Linked DNA regions of Homo sapiens: all the other regions are linked to region 1. The links are contacts of gene promoters, found by promoter capture Hi-C in human tissues and cell types (Jung and others, 2019). All regions are on one chromosome and are shown on one strand. Each heading gives the region's core, a stretch centred on a gene start or on the middle of the fragment in contact. The rest is flanking DNA. Distances are from core to core; before and after follow the strand shown.

Evidence for each region. Contacts are between HindIII fragments. The study calls those that stand out against the background at their distance.
Region 2: a contact is called between a fragment that was not itself captured here and the fragment with the promoter of INTS2 in region 1, in 1 of the 25 tissues and cell types used here (lymphoblastoid cells).
Region 3: a fragment that was not itself captured here is called in contact with the fragment with the promoter of INTS2 in region 1 in 2 of the 25 tissues and cell types used here (H1 embryonic stem cells and mesenchymal stem cells).
Region 4: a contact is called between a fragment that was not itself captured here and the fragment with the promoter of INTS2 in region 1, in 1 of the 25 tissues and cell types used here (IMR-90 fibroblasts).

What each region holds. Positions count from the first base shown.
Region 1 is chr17:61,926,487-61,929,372 of GRCh38, reverse strand. INTS2 (integrator complex subunit 2) reads left to right here and starts at 1,391. Exons shown (of 25, transcript NM_001351695.2): 1 at 1,391-1,719; 2 at 2,711-2,886. The coding sequence starts at 2,729. RefSeq lists a silencer at 1,261-1,360. The HindIII fragment of the contact is 16,998 bases long and covers 1-2,886 here.
Region 2 is chr17:61,891,242-61,894,303 of GRCh38, reverse strand. INTS2 (integrator complex subunit 2) reads left to right here. Exons shown (of 25, transcript NM_001351695.2): 13 at 405-539; 14 at 2,615-2,791. Among named protein-coding and RNA genes, the nearest start is that of BRIP1, 29 kb to the right of the region's middle. The HindIII fragment of the contact is 3,437 bases long and covers 1-2,968 here.
Region 3 is chr17:61,987,763-61,990,885 of GRCh38, reverse strand. All of the region lies in intron 11 of MED13 (mediator complex subunit 13), which reads left to right. Among named protein-coding and RNA genes, the nearest start is that of INTS2, 61 kb to the right of the region's middle. The HindIII fragment of the contact is 7,657 bases long and covers 1-3,123 here.
Region 4 is chr17:61,967,021-61,970,171 of GRCh38, reverse strand. MED13 (mediator complex subunit 13) reads left to right here. Exons shown (of 30, transcript NM_005121.3): 18 at 1,914-2,137. Among named protein-coding and RNA genes, the nearest start is that of INTS2, 41 kb to the right of the region's middle. The HindIII fragment of the contact is 4,125 bases long and covers 1-3,151 here.

The DNA of each region.
Region 1 (2,886 bases), core at 142-2,641:
TTTTTGAGATGGAGTCTGGCTCTGTTGCCCAGGCTGGAGTGCGGTGGCATGATCTCTGCTCACTGAAACATCTGCCTCCTAGGTTCAAGTGATTTTCCTGTCTCAGCCTCCGAAGTAGCTGGGACTACAGGTGCTCCATCACCACGCTGGGGTAATTTTTTTTTTTTTTTTTTTTTTTTGAGACGGAGTTTCGCTCTTATTGCCTAGGCTGGAGTGCAATGGCACGATCTCAGCTCACCACAACCTCCGCCTCCCAGGTTCAAGCAATGCTCCCGCCTCAGCCTCCCAAGTAGCTGAGATTACAGGCGCACACCACCACGCCTGGCTAATTTTTGCATTTTTAGTAGAGGCGGAGTTTCACCATGTTGGTCAGGCTGGTCTCGAACTCCTGGCCTCGTGATCTGCCTGCCTCGGCCTCCCAAAGTGCTAGGATTACAGGCATGAGCCATCGTGCTCGGCCTAATTTTTATATTTTTTGTAGAGTTGGGGTTTAGTCATGTTGCGTCAGGCTGGTCTCGAACTCCTGACCTCAGGTGATCCGCCCGCCTCGGCTTCCCAAAGCGCTGGGATTACAGGCATGAGACACCACGCCCGGCTCTGACTTTATTTTTAAAGAGGTTATAAAGTGCTATATCTTTGTAAAATATTTTTATTTCCAGCTCCTAGCACAATATCTGGTAAATAGAAGTTGCCAAATAAACGTTGATCGAACTAGGAACAATAAATAGTATGAAGACATATGGACTAGCGGTTCTTCATATATAGACTAGTGGTTCTTTTCTGAGTGATCAGACTTCCTTTGAGAAGTTGTTGAAAGTTTTGGACCCTCTTCCCAGAAGAAGTGCCGAGCACTCAGTTCTGAACGGATTCCAGAGAATTCCTGAATCCCCGTGCATTGCCTCTCTAAGGTTCTATGGGTCCCCCAAGTTAAGAACCTGAAAGGAAGGTGTTTAACTTCTGACAGCGGAGGTGTGAGGTCAAGAGCGGAAGAAAGTTTGGGGTTAGATCACTTTTAAAATTCTCCCACAAATCCTGGGATTCTAGAATTTTGGTTCTGGGAAGGCACAGGCAAAGATTTAAAGAGTACAGTTTGGTACCACTAGTGTCAAAGAATAGTGGGAACGATTTTAACACACGTTATGCCATTTGAATGCCATGGCAATCCTGTGATGATGAAATTTAAGTTCTGAGGGGCTCAGTGGCTTGCTTGTCTAAAAGGAAGGAGCTGGTAGGCTCTGGAAATCAGAGCCTACCAGAATCACATTTCTAAATTTTTGGCGAACAAGTAGGGCAGGGCAAATAAAGTGGAGAAAGGGGCGGGGCCGCGCACGCGCACAGTTGCATTGGCGCCGACGTCTCTGCCTTTCCTCTCGCAGCCACCCTTCCTCTCAGACCAGTACGGTGGCCGACGGGAGTCAGACGCTGGGGATGAATGAAGGTGCTGGGTGCAGGTTGAAAAAGTCTCCCGCTTTTCCGTTCCTACAGTCCCGGTTCTGCCTTTGTGTGGTGCCCCCATCCTTCCCACTTTGTATCGACAACCCGGTTGGTCCCGGCGTCTGAGTTCTTGGTGTCCGAGTCGACTCGAGGCACAACTAGGGTTTGGGGTTCCGGATATCGCCTAGGCCCAACATCGGACCGCGCTCTCGATTTCTGCCGCGTCCCGCCTCTAGGACGCGGAGTCCGTGTGCGGTTCCGTGAGGCTGGAGGGTAGATCTTAAGGTATGAAGCGTCCGCTTCTCTGGCCTCAGCGCGTTCCTAGGTCCGTGTCGGAGCCTGGCCAGACTTTGCTCAGCCTGAGGGACTTATTGGTTCTAGTTGCGCCCGGGGCGAGACGGAGGAGCACGCAGGTCTTGGCTCCTCTGCTCCAGTCAGCCCGCCCCTCTGTTAAAAGAGCAGCCCCTCCCTGAAAGCAAAGCAGTTTTTACCCACGACTTTTACCCACGCTGCTGCTAGTCGGTCGGCCTTGAGAGGGGACTGCTTTGGCTGCCAGCTCACTGCCTTTTTGTTTACTTTTTGTGCCTTGGATGATTCCTGGAGACAGAGAAGTGCGCTAATGAGACGCGTCTTTCTCACATAGCACCCACACATCTGCTTTTTACCCGGTAACACAGGGGACATAGGATAGTGTTGTGGCCTCCAGAGCCTTGAATCTGGCATTGGTTCTGCCCAGTGATTTGCTAGTTTTTCCACCGACTCATGGAGGGTGAGAAAGAGAAGCCCAATAGTTCTTGATGTATATCGGGGTAGGCATGTGAAACTATCGGGGTATGAAAGAAAGCACTTAACTATGACCATTCACTTTTGTTTACATTTTGTGGAGCTCATGTGACTGATATAGTGGAGAAAGTCTTGGACTGGGATTTTAGTAGATGAGGATTCAGCCTTGGATTGTGCCTCTAACTAGTAATACTATTTTGGGCGTGTTACTTCATCTCTCTGGGCTTCATATTCCTTCTTTGTAAAATATGAGTATTAGAGCAGAAGATTCCTGAGGCTGGAAGAGACATTAATATACTCTGTTTTCTTTCCCATTTCCCAGGTGACAGTATAAACCTAGGGAGACAGAGAAGCCTTGTCTTGATTGTGCCAGGAACATTGCCAACATAGGGACCTATTAAAGATACACCACATTTTTCAGGGTTTTTAGAAAGTTGGGTGTTCATACATGTGAAAGTTAAACTCCTACTTTCATTTGTATTTTTACCATTAGGATCAACAAACAGTAATAATGACTGAATGTACAAGTCTTCAGTTTGTCAGCCCTTTTGCTTTTGAGGCAATGCAGAAGGTGGATGTTGTTTGCCTGGCATCTTTAAGTGATCCAGAATTAAGACTTCTTCTGCCCTGTTTGGTACGGATGGCACTTTGTGCACCTGCTGACCAGAG
Region 2 (3,062 bases), core at 1-2,500, 35 kb after region 1:
GATGTTTTTCCAAAAAGAATATTTTCCCCCCATAACAATGCTTTGAGGCAGGTATGGCAGTGTCCTGTTTTGTAGATGTGAAAAAGATTCAGAAGATAAATGACTTCTTCAAAGTCATTGAGCCCAGATTGTATGCTTCAAAATTTTATTTTATTTTTTTACCTTATCACACCACTGTGTATGTATCTATGTTTATAAACAAAAAATTAGGGAATTATATAAATCCCTAAATGTACATTTCCTCAGCATTCAAAGACAATTAAAACATGTAATAATTTATTTTCATCATTCATTTCTAGGGACCACACTTGTATTAGGTGTTGACAGTCTACTTACTAATCTCTCTTTCAAAATAATTTTATATTTAGTTCTATTATATTACTAATGCTATTTTTCCCTTTTAGGTTGTCACAGCTCATGCAGTTCGGGTCCCTGTCACCAGCAACCTGAGTGCCAACATTACTGGATTTTTGCCTATTCATTGTATTTACCAGCTTCTCAGGAGCCGTTCCTTTACCAAGCACAAAGTGTCAATAAAAGTATGCCCCTACAAATAAAACAAAATAAAAGCATGCCCCTACATTTTTATATATATATTTTTTTTCTTTTGAGATGGAGTCTTGCTCAGTCACCCAGGTTGGAGTGCAGTGGTGCAGTCTTGGCTCACTGTAACCTCTGCCTCCTGGGTTAAAGTGATTCTCCTGCCTCAACCTCCCAGGTAGCTGGGACTACAGGTGTGTGCCACCATGCCCGGCTAATTTTTGTATTTTTAGTAGAGACAGGGTTTCACCGTGTTGGCTGGCTGGTGTCGAACTCCTGACCTCAAGTGATATGCCTGTCTCAACCGACCAAAGTGCTGGGATTACAGGCGTGAGCCACTGTGCCTGGCCTACATTTATATTTCAAAGAACAACCTAAATTAATGCTTTCTCCCCAGTTGTATTTCAGTTTGTAGGCATTTATTGTGGGTTTTGTGTAGGAAATGTGTGGTATTAAGCTAAGTTACTAGTCATTTATATAAGTATAGTAATTAGGGATAGTAATTATAATTATATAATTATACAGTAATTTCAGATTTTTAAAACAATGTAAGATTTTCAAAATGCATAATACTCCATTTAAATTCTCAATAGTGGCACATGGCTATTTTATTAAAACTTAGAAACTGCCATTTTCTAATTTTTTTTTTTAATTTTAAAGACAGGGTCTCACTCTGTCGCCCAGGCTGTCATAGCTCACTGTAACCTCAAACTCCTGGGCTCAAGCAGTCCTCCTGCCACAGCCTCCTAAGTAGCTGGAACTACAGGTGCGAGCCACCACTCCTGGCTTTTTTTTTTTTTTTTTTTTTTTGAGATGGAGTCTCACTTTGTTGCCCAAGCTGGAGTGCAGTGGTGCTATCTCAGCTCACTGCAACCTCCGCCTCCTGGGTTCAAGTGATTCCCCTGCTTCCGCCTCCTGAGTAGCTGGTATTACAGGCTCCTGCCACCATGCCTGGCTAATTTTTTTTTTTTTTTAATTTTTAGTAGAGACAGGGTTTCACCATGTTGGCCAGGCTGGTCTCAAACTCCTGACCTCACGTGATCCACCCACCTCGGCCTCCCAAAGTGCTGGGATTACAGGCATGAACCACCGTGCCTGGCCTCATACCTGGCTTTAAAAAGTGTTTTTTTGTAGAGACAGGGTCTCGCTATTTTGCCCAGGCTGGTCTGGTCTTGAACTCCTGGTCTCAAGCAATTCTCCTACTTCGGCCTCCCGAAGTGTTGGGATTACAGGCATGAGCCACTGCAGTGGGCCTGGTTTTGTTTTACAAATTGGGGAAGCTGCCATGACTAGTATTTGTTGATTTGTCATAAGGACACCTCACACCTAACTTAGAATTTTGACATGTTTTGATTTGTCTTAGTTGGCTATATCTAACAAGTTAAAAGGCCCTCTAAAGAGAAGGTATTAAGACCCAGGAGGTAAAGTAGACTGAAACTTTTTCAGATATTTACAAAGAACAGTGAATAATATATGCATGATATATCACTTTTTAATTGTTGCTTGTTTTTTGTGATTTAGTGAGATTATTTTCCAGCCAGATTGCATCATCTGCTTTATATTTTTAGCAAGTAAAATAGCTAAGAATTAAGAGTTCACATGCACCCCCAACATTTTACATGTCCTCCATCCAATGATAGTTAAGTGATAAGTCTCCTGTAAGTGCTTTTCAGAGACATTTTCTTAGTCTATCTGAGGGTTTGCTGTGAAGGACCTATCTCTCTCTCTCCAAATTCCTATCTAACGTGAGCTCTCCCATGACGACACACATGGTGCTCTAAATACAGATATGGTAGGGACTTAAAATGTTTTTCCCACTACTTAAAAACTAATAGATTAAACCGAAAGGCAAGCTTCTAGTGGAGGGTGCACCTAAGATGATACAGATATAATGGTAGTTCATATTTTAAAATCAAAGGCAGTTATGATACTAGATAATATATTTGGAACTGCCAAAAGTTAATAGTGAGTTTTACTGATTCATAATTCATGTAAAACTGTATGTACTTTTATAATTTTGCTTGGTTTTTCTTTTTGCCACAATTAATTCAGTGTCTATAACATTCTTTCTTAGGATTGGATTTATAGACAGCTGTGTGAAACCTCTACTCCACTTCATCCTCAATTACTTCCTTTGATTGATGTGTACATAAATTCTATACTTACTCCTGCGTCGAAATCTAATCCAGAAGCCACAAATCAGCCAGTCACAGAACAGGAGATACTCAATATTTTCCAAGGAGTCATTGGGGTAAAATAGTGGTTCTTTTATATCTATTAACTTATTTTTCTTTTAGTTCTTCTTACTTAACCCATATTTTTATTTTCCTATCAGAGGACTTCTAGGTAGTTCTGAATTTAAAATTAGATTAAATTTCCTTAGATCACCTCTAAAAATTAAAAGAATGGTATTAGTTCCAAGTAGTTTGCTAAACAGGCACTTTTTTTTTTGAGATGGAGTTTTACTCTTGTTGCCTAGGCTGGAGTGCAGTGGCGCGATCTCAGCTCACTGCAACCTCCTC
Region 3 (3,123 bases), core at 83-2,582, 62 kb before region 1:
CAAATACTTAGTTAGCACCTGTTATGTGTAGGTACTGTTTGGGTATTGGGGACACAGTGGTCAAGACTCCACTTTGAATATGTCTGACTTAAACTCCTTGTGAATGGAATAGAGAGACATAGTATAGTAATTCATTTACAAAACCCATTTAACTTGTAAAATAATTTTTTTAATTGACAAGTAAAAATTATATATATTTATGGTATACAACATGATGTTTTGGGGGGGAGTGTGTATATATATATATATATATATATACACAGTGCGCCAAGTGTGTGTGTGTATATATATATATAGTGAGACCCTATACATATATACACACATACTAAAAAATATATATATATTTACATTTTTTTAACATTTTACTCATATTCTGTGTCACAACACAGTTACAGTTTATCTTATTCTAAATCATTTTTCAGTTATAATTTAAACAATGGAGACTGGTATGAGGAGAATTGTTAGTCTCCTATTGTAACCCCACAACTATAAGCTTGAAAGTACTGTCAAGTCTTCAGTGAGCAAACACTTGGAATTATTTTACATATATATGTGTGAGTGTGTATATATATGTGTGTGTGTATATGTGTGTGTATGTATATATAGTGGAATGGGTAGATCAAGCTGTTTAACATATGCATTACCTTACATACCTTTTTTGTGCGTGTGGGTGAGAATACTTAAAATCTACTTTCAGCAATTTGCAAGTATACAATATGTTATTATTCACTATGATGTACAGCAAAATCCATTTAACTTTTGATGTGGGCAAAGTAAGTCATCTTCTGGTGTGTGTTTTCGATGACAAAGTTTTAATATTTGGAATAAATAGAGGGTCAGTCTGTGGATAACCAAAAATAAGAAAAAAATCTATCTGAACAATGAACAAATGGTCTAGGTAGCTTGAAAATTCAACAGTTTGGATTCTTTGCCGGAGTGATCTACAGATTCAGAGCAATCCCTATCAAAATTCCAATGACACTTTTCACAGTAATAGAAAAAACAATCCTAAAATGTGTATAGGGTCACAAAAGGCCCTGAATGGCTAAAGCAGTCTTGAGCAAAAAGAACAAAGTTGGTGGCATCACACTACCTGATTTGAAAGTCTGCTGCAAGGCCAAGTGTCATGGCCCATGCCTATAATCTCAGTATTTTGGGAGGCCACAGTAGGAGAATTGCTTGAGGCCAGGAGTTCAAGACCACCTTGGCCAACGTAGTGAGACCCTATCTGTGTAAAAACAATAAATAGGCCAGGTGCAGTGGCTCATGCCTGTAATCCGAGCACTTTGGGAGGCCAAGGTGGGCAGATCACCTGAGGTCAGGAGTTTGAGACCAGCCTGGTCAACATGGCAAAACTCCGTTTCTACTAAAAATACAAAATTAGCCAGGTGTGGTGGCGTGCACCTGTAATCCCATCTATTTGGGAGGCTGAGGCAGAATTGCTTGAATCTAGGAGTCGGAGGTTGCAGTGAGCCAGGATCGCTCCATTGCACTCCAGCCTGGGTGACAAGAGTGAAACTCCATCTCCAATCAATCAATCAATCAAATGTTAAATATTTTAAAAATTAAAATATATGGCTGGGCGTGGTGGCTCACGCCTGTAATCCCAACACTTTGGGAGGCCAAGGCAGGTGGATCATGAGGTCAGGAGATTGAGACCATCCTGGCTAACACAGTGAAACCCCGTCTCTACTAATAATACAAAAAATCAGCCGGGTGTGGTGGCACACACCTGTAGTCCCAGCTACTTGGGAGCTGAGGCAGGAGAATCGCTTGAATCCGGGAGACAGAGGTTGCAGTGAGCCGAGATCACGCCACTGCACTCCAGCCTGGGCGACAGAGCGAGACTCTGTCTCAAAAAAAAAAAAAAAGCTGGATTCATGGAAGTAGAAAGTAAAGTGGTGATTACCAGAGACTGGGGGTAGGGGAATGGGGATGGCCAGGGGACACAAAATTTCAGTTGGGAGGAATAAGTTCAAGAGATCTATTGTAAATTGTGGTTACTACAATTAATAATAGATTGTATATTTGAAAATTCAGAGTAGATTTTAAGTGTTCCCAACATAAAAAAAAGTACCTGTATATGAGGTAATGAATATGTTCAGTAGCTTGATTTAGTCATTTCACAATACATACATTAAAAAAAAAAACGAAAAAACTCGGAAACAAATTGGGTTGTTTGGGCTACTTACCTATGCTAGGATGTTCCCTGGGATATAGGAAACATGTAAGCCCCTTCTTGTGCCTGTAGTTCAGCTTTCTCAAAATGTGAGACATATGCTACATTCTGGAGTATCTCCAAGGTGGAGCTTCAAAATCTTGGTTTTTAGTAAGTATCTTAGATGATTTTTACTTTTAAAATTTCAAAGGCACAACTCTAGTGAATCTTTAGAACTGACACACCAGAGACACTGGGGAAGTGACTTTTATCTTTCTGAAAACGAGGACTCTCAAGTCAGTTAACAGAGAATGATTTGGAAGGTTATGTATCAAATTGTTTTTCTTGTGCAGGAATATATTGGGAGTTTAATTTTCATTGTAATTGGTATCATGTTTTTGTTACCCTAAAACAGGGCGAGAGGGTAGGAAAATAAAATTGTAGTACGGTAACTAAGCGGTAATATTTATCTAGTACTTAAGCACCTAGTACTGGGCGAAGCACATTACCAACATTCTATTACATTTTATTCTTGGTATTGAGGCACAGAGACATTAAGTAATTTGTCGAGGGTCATACTGTTAGTGGTGGAGCTGGGATTCAGATTAAAGTCTGTCTGGCCCAAGAGTCAGCTCTTGATCATTGTTCTGTTCTTCGTTTACATTTCAGAAAGATAGAAAAATACAGGCCAGGTGAGGTGGCTCACACCTGTAATCCCAGCACTTCAGAAACAGAGGTGGGCAGATTGCTTGAGCCCAGAAGCTCAAGACCAGTCTGGGCAATATGGCAAAACCCCAACTCGAGGAAAAAAAAAAAAATTAACTGGGCATAGGGTCACGTGCCTGTAGTCCCAGCTACTGGGGTGGGAGGATTGCTTGAACCCGAGAGGTCAAGGCTACAGTGAGGTGTGATTGCACCACTGCATTTCAGCCTGGTGGTGACAGAGCGAGACCCCGTCTCAAAAA
Region 4 (3,151 bases), core at 242-2,741, 41 kb before region 1:
CTCTAAAATGAAGTTAATAATAGTTTCTGCCTTATGTTTTTTGTGAGGATTAAATGAGTTAGTACATGCAAAGAGCTTTGAACAGTACCTAGCACATAGAATTATCATTGTTTGCTATTATTAATTTTAAATTGCTTTTTTAATGAGAAAGAGCATCTTTTTATGTGTTAGAGATAGTTTTGTTTTGTAATCTCCATGTTCTTAACCCATTTTTCTATTAGGTTGTTGGTCATTTTCTTTTAAAAATTTTTTTATTATGGTAAGAACACTCACCAGGCATGACGACTCACGCCTGTAATCCCAGCACTTTGGGAGGCCGAGGTGGGCAGATCACTTGAGGTCAGGAGTTTGAAACCAGCCTGGCCAACATGGTGAAACCCCATCTCTACCAAAAATTCAAAAATTATCCCGGTATGGTGATGTGTGCCTATAATCCCAGCTACTCAGGAGGCTGAGGTGAGATAATTGCTTGAACCCAGGAGGTGGAGGTTGGAGTGAGTGGAGATCGCACCACTGCACTGCAGCCTAGGCAACAGAGCAAGACTGTCTCAAAAACAAAACAAAAAAAAACTAAAAGAAAGAACACTTAACATGAGATCTGCGCTCTTAGTAAGGTTTTTTCTTTTTTCTATTTTTTAAATTATATTATTTTTAAATGTATAAATAAGGATGGTGTCTCACTATGTTGCCTAGGCCTCAAACTCCTGGGCTCAAGTAATCCTCCCACCTCAGTCTCCCAAGGTGCTGAGATTACAGGCATGAGCCACAGCACCTGGCCTACAGTGTATTTTTATGCCAATTTTTTGTTTGTTTGTTTTTGAGATGGAGTTTTGCTCTTTTTGCCTGGGCTGACGTGCACTGGTGCAATCTCAGCTCACCGCAACCTCCACCCCCTGGGTTCAAGCAATTCTGCTTCAGCCTCCTGAGTAGCTGGGATTACAGGCATGCACCACCATGCCCGGCTAATTTTGTATTTTTAATAGAGACAGGCTTTCTCCATGTTGGTCAGGCTGGTCTTAAACTCCCAGCCTCAGGTGATCTGCCCACCTCGGCCTCCCAAAGTGCTGAAATTACAGGTGTGAGCCACTGCACCCAGCCCCATGCCAAAAATTTAAATGCAGACCAGACGTGGTGGCTCCTGCACGTAATCCCAGCACTTTGGGAGGCTGAGGAAGGAGGATCACTTGAGCTCAGGAGTTTGAGTCCACCCTGGGCAACACAGCAAGATCCCATCTCTACAAAAACTTTAAAAATTAGCTAAGCATAGTGGCACACACCTGTAGTCCCAGCTATTCGGGAAGCTGAGGACAGAGGATTGCTTGAGCCCAGCAGGTTAATGCTGCAGTAAGGCGTGATTGTTCCACTGCAGTCTAATCTGGGCAATAGAGCAAGACCCTGTCTCAAAAAAATAAGTAAATAAAAAGACTTGTTTAGGAAATTCCTTAATGTTGAAAAGTCTTGACCACTGGCATTAAGTATTTTTGTCTCTAATAAAATATTTTCACTAATAATGACTTCATTAACTTTTGACATTTAAATAAAAAGGAGGCCGGGCATGGTGGCTCACACCTGTAATCCCAGCACTTTGGGAGGCCGAGGTGGGCGGACACAAGGTCAGGAGCTCGAGACCATCCTGGCTAACACGGTGAAACCTCGTCTCTACTAAAAAATACAAAAAATTAGCCAGGCGTGGTGGCAGGCACTTGCAGTCCCAGCTACTCAGGAGGCTGAGGCAGGAAAATGGCGTGAACGCGGGAGGCGGAGCTTGCAGTGAGCCGAGATGGCGCCACTGCACTCCAGTCTGGGCGACAGAGCGAGACTCTGTCTCAAAAAATAAATAAATAAATAAATAAATAAAAAGGAGACATGTCTTGTTTTTAAGTGTTTTCTTAAAATACATCTTTCTTATTTAGGAACTGATGAATCCCCAGAACCACTGCCAATCCCCACATTTTTGTTGGGTTATGATTATGATTATCTGGTGCTTTCTCCATTTGCTCTTCCTTATTGGGAGAGACTTATGCTGGAACCCTATGGATCTCAAAGAGATATAGCCTATGTTGTACTGTGTCCAGAAAATGAAGCCTTGTTAAATGGAGCAAAAAGCTTTTTTAGAGATCTTACTGCAATATATGAGGTAGGTGTTTAAAAAGAGATGACATTTTAAAACTACCTTACGATTTGTATTGTTGTATATACAGCATACTGGGCAGTTCAGTTGATTGGGACACAGTGATGATGTCAGATTAGATGTTTATTTCTCATACTAGCCAGTTACATTCTTTGCTGAGTTTGACCCAGTCTGTTAGATGTGTATGCCGTGGGTCAGAGTGGCTATCCCCCTATAGGAGGAAGAAACATTGAGGGCATATAGATATATATCCCTTTTAATGTGGCTTTTTCTAAAACAAAGGGTAACAATGTTAAATAGCCAGGAAAAAAGTTACATTTACAAAAATTCTAGTCTTTATTCTCTAGGATTTCAGGTAGTGACACTAGGCCTCACTTTCCTCATATGTAAAATAAATCTATGCTAGATATCACTAAGGTCCATTTCAGGTCTGAAATTCTTGCCTCTTCTTTTAAGTTATAATTCTCACATATCCATCACCAGGCGCAATAATTGTAAATTATAAGTGTTATGGGACATAAAGTCTTACTTTATTATTCCCTCCTTTTTCCACAAAGGCTTCGAAATTTAGTCTTTAAATTTTGATTCCTTATACAATCTGAATGTTAGTGTATGTTAGTTTAGCTTCCTTTTAAAATTTTCCACATAATTACAAGGTATTTGTAGTGTGTTTTTAATAAATAAACATTTCCCAAAGGGTGTTATTTGGAATATCAGTCCGGTAAAATCCTCTCAGAGAAAAAGTTCCATAGTTAAATAGGCTTGGGGAAACATTGTATATTATATTACCTTTTAGAGATTTACAATTCATATTAGGTTTTTAAAGGCTTTGAAATTCTTACAGTAAAGAACTCTTCTAAGTTTGCTTAATCCAATGTTTTAAATTTATTTAACATTGGGCTTCTAATAACAAAAATCAGTGACTCACAGAACTAGAGGGAGAAGGTGTATAAATATATTTGTATAACAATTTTTATTTTGCTTTGATTTAGGGATATTTGTATTCATAATTCATGAATT